4 separate regions of the Homo sapiens genome follow, and all the other regions are linked to region 2. Evidence: promoter capture Hi-C in 16 types of primary human blood cells and fetal thymus (Javierre and others, 2016). All regions are on one chromosome and are shown on one strand. The core of a region is centred on a gene start or on the middle of the fragment in contact, and the rest is flanking DNA. Distances in the headings are between cores, read along the strand shown.

Region 1 (2,700 bases), core at 84-2,583, 540 kb before region 2:
CTTGTTTTATAGCCGTATATTCATTACAGATGGCTAAAGGAGAGGAAAAATTAAAAGGAGGACGCAAAGTTGCCCTTGTTGCAAGCAAACTGCCTCTGTTTTTCTTAAATTGTTATGGATTGCCGAAGCTGGAAGAAAACCTGCGTAGTTCCGGGTGCCAGCTCCTGGTCTGGTAGAAAGTTATTCTGACAAGCCATGGTGTGCACCTATATGTGTTTGGATAAGAGCACTGGGGGACCCCCATCCACACACTAAAGGAGGTTTAAGAAACTCAGGCCATGAACGGCTAAAGCACAGGGCTTGGTTTCAGAGAGCCAGAGAAGGTTAGAGCTAGAAAGAAGTTGTTTTACAGATGGGGAAACTGAGTCCTGAAGAGGATGCTTAACTTGCCCAAGGTCACGTGTCTAGTAGACCACTGGAAACTCTCTTGATACCTGGAGCCCTTCAATAAATGGGCAGGTAAACTGGTCTAATCTTTCTGGAAAGCAACTCGGAAATTGATCATATGCTTAGAGCCAGGACTTCCTGCCCATACTGACTTTTTTTTTTTTTTTTTTTTTTTTTTTTTGAGACAGAGTCTCAGTCTGTCGCCCAGGCTGGAGTGCAGTGGCGCCATCTCCGCTCAATGCAAGCTCCGCCTCCCGGGTGCACGTCATTCTCCAGCCTCAGCCTCCCAAGTAGCTGGGACTACAGGCACCCGCCACCACGCCTAGCTAATTTTTTGTATTTTTAGTAGAGACGGGATTTCACCGTCTTAGCCAGGATGGTCTCAATCTCCTGACCTTGTGATCCGCCCACCTCGGCCTCCCAAAGTGCTGGCATTACAGGGGTGAGCCACCGCGCCTGGCCACCATACTGACTTTCAAGCTGCAGAAGTGGGGCCTTTCCCTAGCCTTGCGCTTTGGAGAGCCCCTCCCTTCCCACCCTGCCGCGGGTGTCATCTCCCCACCAGGCAAGGAGTAGGAAGAGATCAGGGAACATGCCCATGCCTCACCAATCCCCCTAGATCACACTCCAGCTTCCTGGAACTCTGGAATTCCCTGCCCAAGCAGTCCTAAGCCAGCTTCCAGGACCTGAGCATATCACCCAAAGGGTAGCAAGGCGTGAAGGTTTATGGGAAGGGAAAGTGTGGTCAGCCCTAGAAGCTTCAGTGTGCAGGCTGAGGTGCCAACACGCATGCGCACAAGCCCCCTCCCAGTGAGAGACAAAGCTGGGGGTGGGAAGAGGAGGCGGTCAGGCCCCGGGTCAGTGCCTGGGGTCCGTTCTCCCCACGCCAGCATGTTCCATTACAGAACTCCAAGGAACCTACAAATTCTAAATTCAAACCTTGTATTTCAGGCCATTTTGAAGGTATATTTGTCAAGGTAGATGGCTAGAATATATCTTATATAAATTATCAATTTGTTTGCTTGATTTATAACTTAAATATCTAGACACATTTTTACTTTTGCTCTGAGCTCAGCAAATCAGGAATAGACTGATTTTTCTCAATACTCAAAAGACATAATCAGAAATGCAAACAAAGCTTTATGCACAAAGATATTTAAAGTATATTTTATAAGAGCCAAGAATATGTATCATCTTAAAAGTCCAATATTAAGTGAAGTATTAACTAAATTATATTATACCCTAGATGTAAGATCTCTCAAAGATTTTAGGCTTGAATGATTGGAGATGGAGGAAGAACAAGTTGCAGGAGACGGTGAGGAGTTGCAAACCAAGAGTTCCATTGTGGACATATTATGTTTGAGATGCCTGCAGGCAAGCAGGTGGTTGGTTATACAAATCAAGAACACAGGGCTAGAAATATAAATTTGAGATTCACATAAATAGAATTATCATGTATATATGATCATATCAATATGATTACATCTATATATAAAACCATTGGAATCATATATGATCATATGGATAGATGTAATATCTATTGGTTGGTTTAAGCCACTCTACTGAGAGCCGTAGGGCAATGCCTATGGCGAGAGGGGAAAACACTTCTCTTTCTGAAGCCATCAGGCCTCTTCCTCAGAACACTTGCTTCCTTTCAACCACATCCAGCCTTGTTCCATTAAGGCCCCTTCTGGCTCCCTCTCTTTTACCATAGACTTGAGTGTTTCAGGCCTATTGATGCACTACAGCATTCCGCATGAGCTTTGGAAAAGAGCCAGTAATGGATTAACCCTTTCTACAGCTGAAGTTCAAAGTGCTCCCCCAAGACGGAAGCAGTGAAAGAGAAGGTGGACCACAAACTGCACCCTCCTCCCTCCCCAGGAATCTCACTAAGCTCCAGAAAGAGCTGCAGGTGTCCAAATCAGCAGTGGGTCTCACTGCAATGTGAGTGCATCCATCTTTTTGCTGTTGGGCCCTCAGTGTGGATAAAGAGAAAAAACAAGAGGAAATGTCCTTCAGGGTCGGTTTCATCCTGGACACAGGATAAAGTGGGACACAGGGCCACGTTCCTCTCTTCTACAGGATTCAAACACTCAGCAACACTGCAGTCAAGGGCAAATACATGCATACATGGTTAAATAATTCTGTTTTGCTTCAGGGGGAATTTTGTTGTTTTTTTGTTGTTGTTGTTTTTTGAGATGGAGTCTGGCTCTGTTGTCCAGGCTGGAGTGCAGTGGCACGATCTCGGCTCACTGCAAGCTCCGCCTCCTGGGTTCACGCCATTCTCCTGCCTCAGCCTCCTAAGTAGCTGGG
Region 2 (2,963 bases), core at 254-2,753:
AAAACAGAATCACTGGATCAAAACCAAGACAGTGCTATATGCTTTTCCGCTATGTTCCAAAAAGCATCTTCCACCCACACTGGTCCTCAACTTTCACTGTGCCTCCCGAAGTTAATTCTATGTCTCAAGGGAAAACTGACTTAAAACGCAGATTCCGGGGCCCACCCCTGCATTCTGCTTCAGTGTATTTTGGGTATCTGTATTTAAATAAACACTATTTAAACAAACATGATTTGGGTAAAGGTCTCAAGACACAATTTGTAAGCAGTCCCGCTATCGGATTCCTTTCGGCAGGTGTTTTTCTCGCCGAGTGTGGGTTTTTACTTCCTTTTCTATTTGGGCAAAGACTCTTTTTGAATCAGTGACCCACGCAGAAGTTACTCAATCTGTTTGAAAGAGTATAAAGTTCACGATTTCCCTACACACTAACATTATCAAAGAGTGTATATTTATATTAGAACAAACTCAGAAGGTTAAAAAGCTAGTGATTAAAAGTAAGGGCAGAGAGGAAGAAGGTAAAGACCAGTACCTGGATGCCTTATTCTCTAGGAATAACAACTTTTCCTTAATTAGCACTTCCTAATCTTCAGAGTTCTTATGTCTGCAGCTAGCTCACTTCGAAGAAAAATGCAGGGACCATGAAGTAGTTGTTACTATTCCTACTGGAGTACGCGCTTCATGGGCAGGGACCACACTCACAATCTTTTCCTCCCAGAACCCAGTACAGGGACTGGCACACAGTAAATGCTAAATGCAGAAGGAATGGTATCTCTAGTTTCTCAAAGGTGCAAACCAAGCCATCCCTTTCTCCAGAATCTATGGATTAATCATTTCCAAATCTACAGACCACATTTTGAAAAGGAATGCTTGCTGTTCCAAAGAACTCGCACTTGTTTCTTCACGCCCTCGCCCCTTCTCTCCAGTGGCTCTCCCTCTCCCTTCCCACTGCCTGGGCGCGTTCGCCTGGAGTTAGCCTGGACCTGACGAAAATCTGTAAATTAAGGCGAAGGACCCAGCTGCAAAAAAGGCGCTCTGCAGCCCTCTCCCAGCCTCGGGTGACAGGGGTCTTCCAGGGCGTCGGAGCCCAAGAGACCCCGGCCACCTTCCTCTCCCGGGAACCCCAAATCGATCCTGCCACTGCCACAGCCACCGCCCCCGCCCCTTCAACTCCGCCAAGTTTACCCCGGGCTCGGCGCCCATCACTAGTTCTGGAGCTGACCGCGCGGAAGCCCGCCCGCCGGGGTCGCAGGGCCCAGGCCCCCGCACAGCTCTGCAGCCCCCGCAAGCACAGCCCGACCCGCGGCGCGCTTGCCGCTCACCCTCGTCCGGGCCCTCGGCACCCGCCACGGCCAGCAGCTGCACCAGCCCCAAGAGCAGCAGGAGCAGGAAGGCTTTCCGGGGCCTCATGGTAGCGGGGGCGGAGCGCGGCCTCCTAGCGTCGGCGGCCGCTGAGCGCACCGAGAACTCGGGGTCTGGCCGACAGCCCGTCGCTCCTTAGCGACGCGGGGGAGCCGGAAAAACCCACGGAAGTCGTCCCCGGCGATTGGCAGGGGGCGGAGGAAGTCGCGGGCCGGCCAATCCCAGACTGACGCCGGCACGGACCGCGCGCGCCTCGGCCGCGACGAGTCGGCTCCGCCGCCCTAGGCCCTCCCTACTCCTGCGCGCGGCCCTCGGCTGCGCGTTTAAAACTCCGAGCCCTAACGTGAGGTGCCCCCTTCTGATTGGCTGCGCCACAACCACCAATCAGCGGCTGCCACTCGGTTTGCCGGGAGCGCACAGGCCAAGAGGGAGAGCGGGGGAGAACAAAGGCGGCGGGCCGGGCACGGGGAGTGCGGGACCTGGCTACGCCTCGGGGCGCTATTGGCAATCGGTGCCGGGGGCGGGGCAGGAGAGGCGGAGCCTGGGAAATGTGGAGCGGGGCGGGGCTCGGCTCAGCATCCTGCGGCCGAACTTGGCAGTAAGAACACGTGTCGGTACCGGAGCGGTGGGGAGCAGTGGCGAGCAGGGCGGTCCTCGCAACCCGCCGGGGCTCTGGGAAGCTGGAGACCAACGCGGGCGGAGGAGCACGAGCCTGTTTGTTGCTAGAAAGGGGCTCCAAGTCCGCTGCATGTTCGTGGCCTTCTTAATTTCTTTTTCTGCTCGAGCAAATAAAAGTTTCATTTCTCTCCGGAGTATTGAGCTAGAGAGCGGGGAAGAGCATGCAGTAAAGTGAATCCAGACTAGAATCTGGGGAAGCCTCTCTCCAAGGTTGCATCTCGGAGAAACAAGCCATCAGATTCTTGTCTAAACTTTGCCTCGTCTTATTTAGTTTTCTAGTGATTTTCTGCAAAAGGAAATACCAGATAGGCAATCTAGTGGTTTACATAGATCTGAATAAAAGCTTGAGGTTTTCCCTCTTGACCACTTTGGAGAAGAAAACTAGGTTAAGATGACGATTTTTGTATGTCAGAAAAGAAGCCTGTAATGTGCATTAAGTTTGAGACTTTTTTTTAACACCTGGGAGTTTGAGAAGGCAAATAGGGAAAAGAAAAAAAATAGAAACTCAAGTTCAGGAATATTTTCTCGTGTGTGCAGATTATTACGTGAGGAAGAAAAAAGGGATAACTCACAGACCTTAGCAATTAAAAATACTTAATTTTTTTGTTGAATGCCTATTAATCTGATGGTTCCTGGTCAATTTTGTAGGGCAGAACATTATGCAACTGTACACACTGATTTATTAGAGTGCTATGAATGTGGGCCACCAGACAGTTCGGTATCATGTTATTTTATTTTTTGAGACAAGAGTCTTGCTCTGTCACCCAAGCTGGAATGCAGTGGCGCCATCTCCTCTCACTGCAACCTCCGCCTCCTGGGTTCAAGTGATTCTACTGTCTCAGCCTCCCGGGTAGGTGGGACCACAGGCGCCCGCCACCACTCCCTGCTAATTTTTATATTTTTAGTAGAGACAGGGTTTCACCACG
Region 3 (2,922 bases), core at 320-2,819, 600 kb after region 2:
TTGTGTAATCAGGAAGAACATTATTAAGTAAAAGCCTCATAAAATTACAAATTTAGAAGGAGGCACAGAGCTGGTGCAGGAAAGGCACTCTGAAGCTTCCTTAGCTTCACTGTAATGTCCTGGATTAAAAAAAAAAAAAAGCCAGCCTTGTCTAGGCTGGGACATGTGCACCACGGAGATTGTAGGGGGAACTGGGAATCAGGAGACCTGTCAGTTCTGTCATTAACCAGTCGAGACCCTTGGGCAAGTCAGTCAGCCCTTGCCTCACATGTAAAGTGAGGAGATTGGAGTAGATCATTCTGCAAATGTCCCTGAGTCCAGCCTTCCTTTCACCACTTGATACGGGACCCAGTAGAAGACCACCGCTTCCTCTCTCACTGTGGCCTTTTTGCGGGTCACCCTGCATGATAATTTACCTCTATTATCAAGACAACAATGTGTTGGCAAGTCCCTGCCATGTTGCCTGGAAGAGCTACTCCCGGATTACCTTGGAAAAGGGCCTTATTCCTGTTTGAGGAGACAGAGGTGTCATCTCCATGGCAATATGGCCCCTAGGGGAACTAGTGCTTTCATGGTGTGTCCCATGGTGTGTGCTGGAGGATGTGAGCAGTGGGGCAAAGTGCGGTCTGGACTTAAGTGACCATCTGTGTGTCCCTTGAAGGAATTTAACATCATAGAAATCACTGTGGAATTCAGTGTTTCCCAGGTCCTCGGACCAGAAGTGGAGAGGAGTGGCTGGCTTTGCTGCCTTCTGAGAAGGCTGCCAGGGCTACAAGGCAAAAGGCCTGTGGGTAAAGGAGAAAATTCCAGTAGAAGGAAAAGACAGTTCACAGGAAGGGACAGTTTACCAGCTCCTGTGACAAGAGAAGAGGCGGGGCCTTGGCACAGCTGAGGAGGTGAAAACGAGCTTACCCAAGTGTTACTCCACGTGTTCCTTCTAAGAGGGACAGGGCTCTGCTTGCCATCGGAAAGGTCACGTGGGAGGCTGGACGCAGTGGCTCATCCCAGAGCTTTGGGAGGCCAAGGCAGGAGGATCGCTTGAGGCCCCGAGTTTCAGACCAGCCTGGGCAACATAGTGAGACGTCTGCTCTACAAAAAAATAAAAATAAAAAGTATTAACTGGGTATGGTGGCACACACCTGTGGTCCCAGTTAGTTGAGAGGCTGAGGCGGGAGGCTTGCTTGAGCCCAAGAGTTGGAGGCTGCAGTGAGCTATAATTGTTTCACTGCACTCCAGCCTGGGTAACAGTAGAATACCCTGCCGCTTAAAAAACAATGAAAGAGTCAAGTGGGGTTGTTCTCCTGCAACATTTTTTGGTCCTTGAAACTAGGTTAACATTGGTCCTTTTAAGGCTTTTGGGGATTCCAAAATCTACTCAGCTACCACCTTCTCACTATTTCTTGGAGTTGCTTCTTCTCCATCATTCTCCATGTATATTAACTGAAGAAGTAGAGCTGGAAGAATCATCTTTTGTCGTAGATTGCAGTTGTGTTGAAAGTGCCCTGAATGGAATACTGGGCCAGGAGAGCCAGACGCAACTCTGTCATTAAGTGTGTTAGAAAAGACACCTCAGTCACATGGAGTTTCTTTTGTAGGTGCCCACCGTGACAGGCACTAGAGGTTGACTCTGAAGGTCATTCTAGCAGTGCTTTTCCAGGCTGCTGCCCCAACCCAGGGACTCACGGCAGGGAAGACACAGGATCCGGGGTACCTGAGGAGGAGACACTGCCTCTTGTTATGCACAAGGTCAATGAGTTCTCACTCAGGCGGGTCTGGCAGCTCCTATGAGCTTCTATTTTGAAGTGGCAACTCATAGGTTCCTGGTAATCTGGGTATGGCTATAAAAGTCAAAGATATTAACTAACCCACACAATAGCAGGACACAGTATAGCTCAGGGGTAGAGTATTGGACTGCAGATCCAACAGGACACCAGTTCAAATACAGATAACCCCTCTGGCTTTTCAATTTTGACATTTTAAATAGGTGCCTACATTTTAACTTCTTTTCTATTAGACACTAGGGTAAAGATTTCATTTTTTCTGGAACCAGCAAATGGTGAGGGTAGAATGTGGTGGTTTTATACATTTTAGGGAGACATGAGACATCAGTCAATATGTGTAAGATGTACATTGGTTAGTTCTGGAAATGTGGGACAACTTGAGGTGAAGGCAGGACAACTGAAAGCAAGGAGGGGGCTTCCAGGTCACAGGTATATAAGAGACAAATGGTTGCATTCTTTTGAGTTTCTGATGAGCCTCTCCAAAGGAGGCAATCAGATATGCACTTATCTCAGTGAGCAGAGGGGTGACTTTGAATAAAATGGGAGGCAGCTTTGCCCTAAGCAGTTCCCAGCTTGACTTTTCCCTTCAGGTTAGTGATTTGGGGGCCCCAAGATTTATTTTCCTTTCACATTTAAGTGTACAGTACTTGAAACTGGACCTGGGGCTGGGTGCGTTGGCTCACACCTGTAATCCCAGCACTTTGGGAAGCCAAGGTGGGCGGATCACGAGGTCAAGAGTTCGAGACCAGCCTGGACAACATGGTGAAACCCCATCTCTACTAAGAATACAAAAATTAGCCGGGCGTGGTGGCACGTGCCTGTAATGCCAGGTACCGTGGAGGCTGAGCAGGAGCATCTCTTGAATCTGGGAGGCAGAGGTTGCAGTGAGGTGGAGGTTGCAGTGAACCAAGATTGCGCCATTGCACTCCAGCCTGGGCAACAGAGCGTGACTCCGTCTTGGAGAGAAAAAAAACAAACAAACAAAAACTGGACCAGAACAGCATCTTCCAGGAACAAAGGCTGTTTCAGCATTTCCTAGTTGTCTTAATTTGTCCCCTTTTTCATCCAGGCATTCCCCCTGGGATGGGGTGGTATTGGTCTTCTAATTCCAAACAAACCACGAGGATTTATAGCTCAGTGA
Region 4 (2,752 bases), core at 91-2,590, 520 kb before region 2:
TCACCTCTCAGAGTCTCAGACTCTTCGTCTGTGAAATAGAGACAGTTCTCACCACTCTCGGTCTTCAAGCCATGACTCCTACATTTTATCTTTCTTCCTTCCCTGATTTGTTTTTCTCAATAGCTCTTAATGCCACCAGACATAATTTTGATTCATTTGTTTGTTTATTGAACATTTCAGCATACAAAAATGCAAGTGCCATGAGGGAGGGCTTACCCTCCATCTGGTTCACTGCTGTGGCCCAGCATCCAGGACAGGGCCAGCATACAGCAGGCACGTATAAATATCTGTGCCAGGAATGAATGAATAGCACTACCTCAGACAGTTGCTGCAGACTTAGATAAGCATACTTTAAAAGAGTTTAGCACAACATCTGGCCCACAGTAGACATTCAGTGAGCCGTAGTAGTTAGTATGATTACCTGTGTGTCTTTTTTTTTTTTTTTTTTGAGACGGAGTCTCGCTCTGTTGCCCAGGCTGGAGTGCAGTGGTACAATCTCGGCTCACTGCAACCTCTGCCTCCTGGGTTCAAGCGATTGTCCTGCCTCAGCTTCCTGAATAGCTGGGATTACAGGTGCCCGTCACCACACCTGGCTACTTTTTGTATTTTTAGAATGTTGGCCAGGCTGGTCTTGAACTCCTGACCTCCGGTGATCCACTCACCTCAGCCTCCCGAAGTGCTGGGATTACAGGCGTGAGCCACTGTGCCCAGCTATGATTGCTTATATGTCTTTGTGCATGCAAGTGTAGAATCTCTCAAAACCCCAGTTACTGTATTTCCAAGTGGAACACAGGTTTGCTATCCAGATCAATTGAGAAGACATGTGCAACTCTTAGCTCAATACCTGGCACACGTCCGTCTATCAAGGCTCTGGTAACAGAATCAAGGCTGTGGAAGTTGGCAGCACTCACTTTTCCTACGTGAGGAGCTCACAGAATACACTGTCTTCGTTTCCCAGGTCTGCAGAAACAAATTACCACAAATGTGCTGACTTGAATCCACAGAAATTCATTCTCTCACAATTCTGGAGATCAGAAGTCTGCAATCAGGATGTTGGCAGGGCCACAGCCCCTTCAAAGCTACTAGGGGAGGCTGCACTTCCTTGCCTCTTCTGGCTTCTGGTGGCTCCAGGCATTCCTGGACCTGGGCAGCATCACTCTAATCTCTGCCTCCATCTTCACATGACCTTCTGTGTCTCTTCTCGTTGTGTCTCCTATGATAATTGTCATTGGATTGAAGACCCACCCTTATAATCCAGGATGATCTCATCTCGAGAACCTTAATTGAATTGCATTTGCAAAAACTGTATCCAAATAAGGTCACATTCTCTGTCTCAGAGACAGAGACACAGACTGGGACTCTAACTTCTGCCTTCACCAAGGTCTCTGACCTACAAATAGGCTGCATTCCAAAGGACTGTTTGTCACTCAAAATGTGTTTTCCCAAAGAAACAATGCCATAAATGGAGGCTAAGTTCTCAGGCACATCAATCTACAATAGTTTGTATGACCGTCATACAGATAAAATTGCATACAAGTGAATTTCTAAATCATAGTGAATATCGGCCTGGCGCGGTGGCTCACGCCTGTAACCCCAGCACTTTGGGAGGCCGAGGCAGGCGGATCACCTGAGGTCGGGAGTTCGAGACCAGCCTGACCAACATGGAGAAACCCCATCTCTACTAAAAATACAAAAAATTAGCCGGATGTGGTGACGCACGCCTGTAATCCCAGCTACTTGGGAGGCTGAGGCAGGAGAATCGCTTGAACCTGGGAGGCGGAGATTGTGGTGAGCCGAGATCACGCCATTGCACTCCAGCCTGGCAACAAGAGTGAAACTCCATCTCAAAAAAAAAAACAAAACACAGTGAATATCATCACATCTAATAATTAATATTAAAAATCATAAAGTTAAATAGATCATTTTGTGTCTTAAATACTAGTCCACACTTACTTAGAGGGAGATAAGGAGGCAGATGAAATTTTTGATGGAGATGCTAAGGGGCTTCAAAGGATGAGGTCGTGATCTTTGTTTCATTTAATTTCCTATTTTAGGAGTTTCTTTTTTTTAGTGAGGCTTTATGACTAGTGGCACTCTTACACCTGCAAGCTGGTTATGAATCAAGTTGGCAGAAGGAAGAAACAAGGAGAGATTTTTCTGAAACAACCCATTAAATTCCCCTATGCAAAACATTAGCCTATAAAGATTCTTAAATTTTCTGCCTAGACAATGATATCAATTGCTCATAATGACAGTTCTGTTACTTCCTTTTTGACTCTTACATGTTTCATTTCATCTTTCTGTTTTACTGGGCTTGGTAGGCCCCTCGGTACAGTGATGATGTAAATACCCTTTTTTTTCTTTTTGAGACTGAGTTTCGCTCTGTCGCCCAGGCTGGAATGCAGTGGTGCGATCTCAGCTCACTGCAACCTCTGCCTTCTGAGTTCAAGCAATTCTCCTGCCTCAGCCTCCCAAGTAACTGGGCTTACAGGCACATGCCACCATGCCCGGCTAATTTGGAATTTTTAGTAGAGACGGGGTTTCACCATGTTGGCTGGTCTCAAACTCCTGACCTCAAGTGATCCGCCCACCCCAGCCTCCCAAAGTGCTGGGATTGCAGGCATGAGCCACCATGCCCAGCCGTGAATACCCTATCTTGATCCTGATTTTAAAGGAGATACTTTTAACGTTACGTCAGTAACTATGAAGTTTGCTGTCTTTTTGTTTGTTTTTGTCAATGCCTTTCATCATA

What was found. Contacts are between HindIII fragments. The CHiCAGO score rates a contact against its expected background, and 5 or more counts as called.
Region 1: a contact is called between a fragment that was not itself captured here and the fragment with the promoter of PDIA4 in region 2, in 1 of 17 cell types (activated CD4 T cells). The highest score is 5.7, in activated CD4 T cells.
Region 3: a fragment that was not itself captured here is called in contact with the fragment with the promoter of PDIA4 in region 2 in 1 of 17 cell types (neutrophils); the score reaches 5.3 in neutrophils.
Region 4: a fragment that was not itself captured here is called in contact with the fragment with the promoter of PDIA4 in region 2 in 9 of 17 cell types (activated CD4 T cells, naive CD8 T cells, naive CD4 T cells and 6 more); the score reaches 13.1 in activated CD4 T cells.

What each region holds. Positions count from the first base shown.
Region 1 is chr7:148,485,960-148,488,659 of GRCh38, forward strand. No RefSeq gene overlaps it. Among named protein-coding and RNA genes, the nearest start is that of C7orf33, 100 kb to the right of the region's middle. The HindIII fragment of the contact is 380 bases long and covers 1,144-1,523 here.
Region 2 is chr7:149,027,002-149,029,964 of GRCh38, forward strand. PDIA4 (protein disulfide isomerase family A member 4) reads right to left here and starts at 1,504. Exons shown (of 10, transcript NM_004911.5): 1 at 1,320-1,504. The coding sequence starts at 1,407. RefSeq lists enhancers at 624-1,218, 1,219-1,812 and silencers at 1,137-1,186, 1,277-1,346, 1,417-1,996. The HindIII fragment of the contact is 15,108 bases long and covers 1-2,378 here.
Region 3 is chr7:149,626,268-149,629,189 of GRCh38, forward strand. No RefSeq gene overlaps it. Among named protein-coding and RNA genes, the nearest start is that of TRC-GCA9-3, 8.0 kb to the right of the region's middle. The HindIII fragment of the contact is 2,952 bases long and covers 94-2,922 here.
Region 4 is chr7:148,504,958-148,507,709 of GRCh38, forward strand. No RefSeq gene overlaps it. Among named protein-coding and RNA genes, the nearest start is that of C7orf33, 84 kb to the right of the region's middle. The HindIII fragment of the contact is 6,358 bases long and covers 1-2,752 here.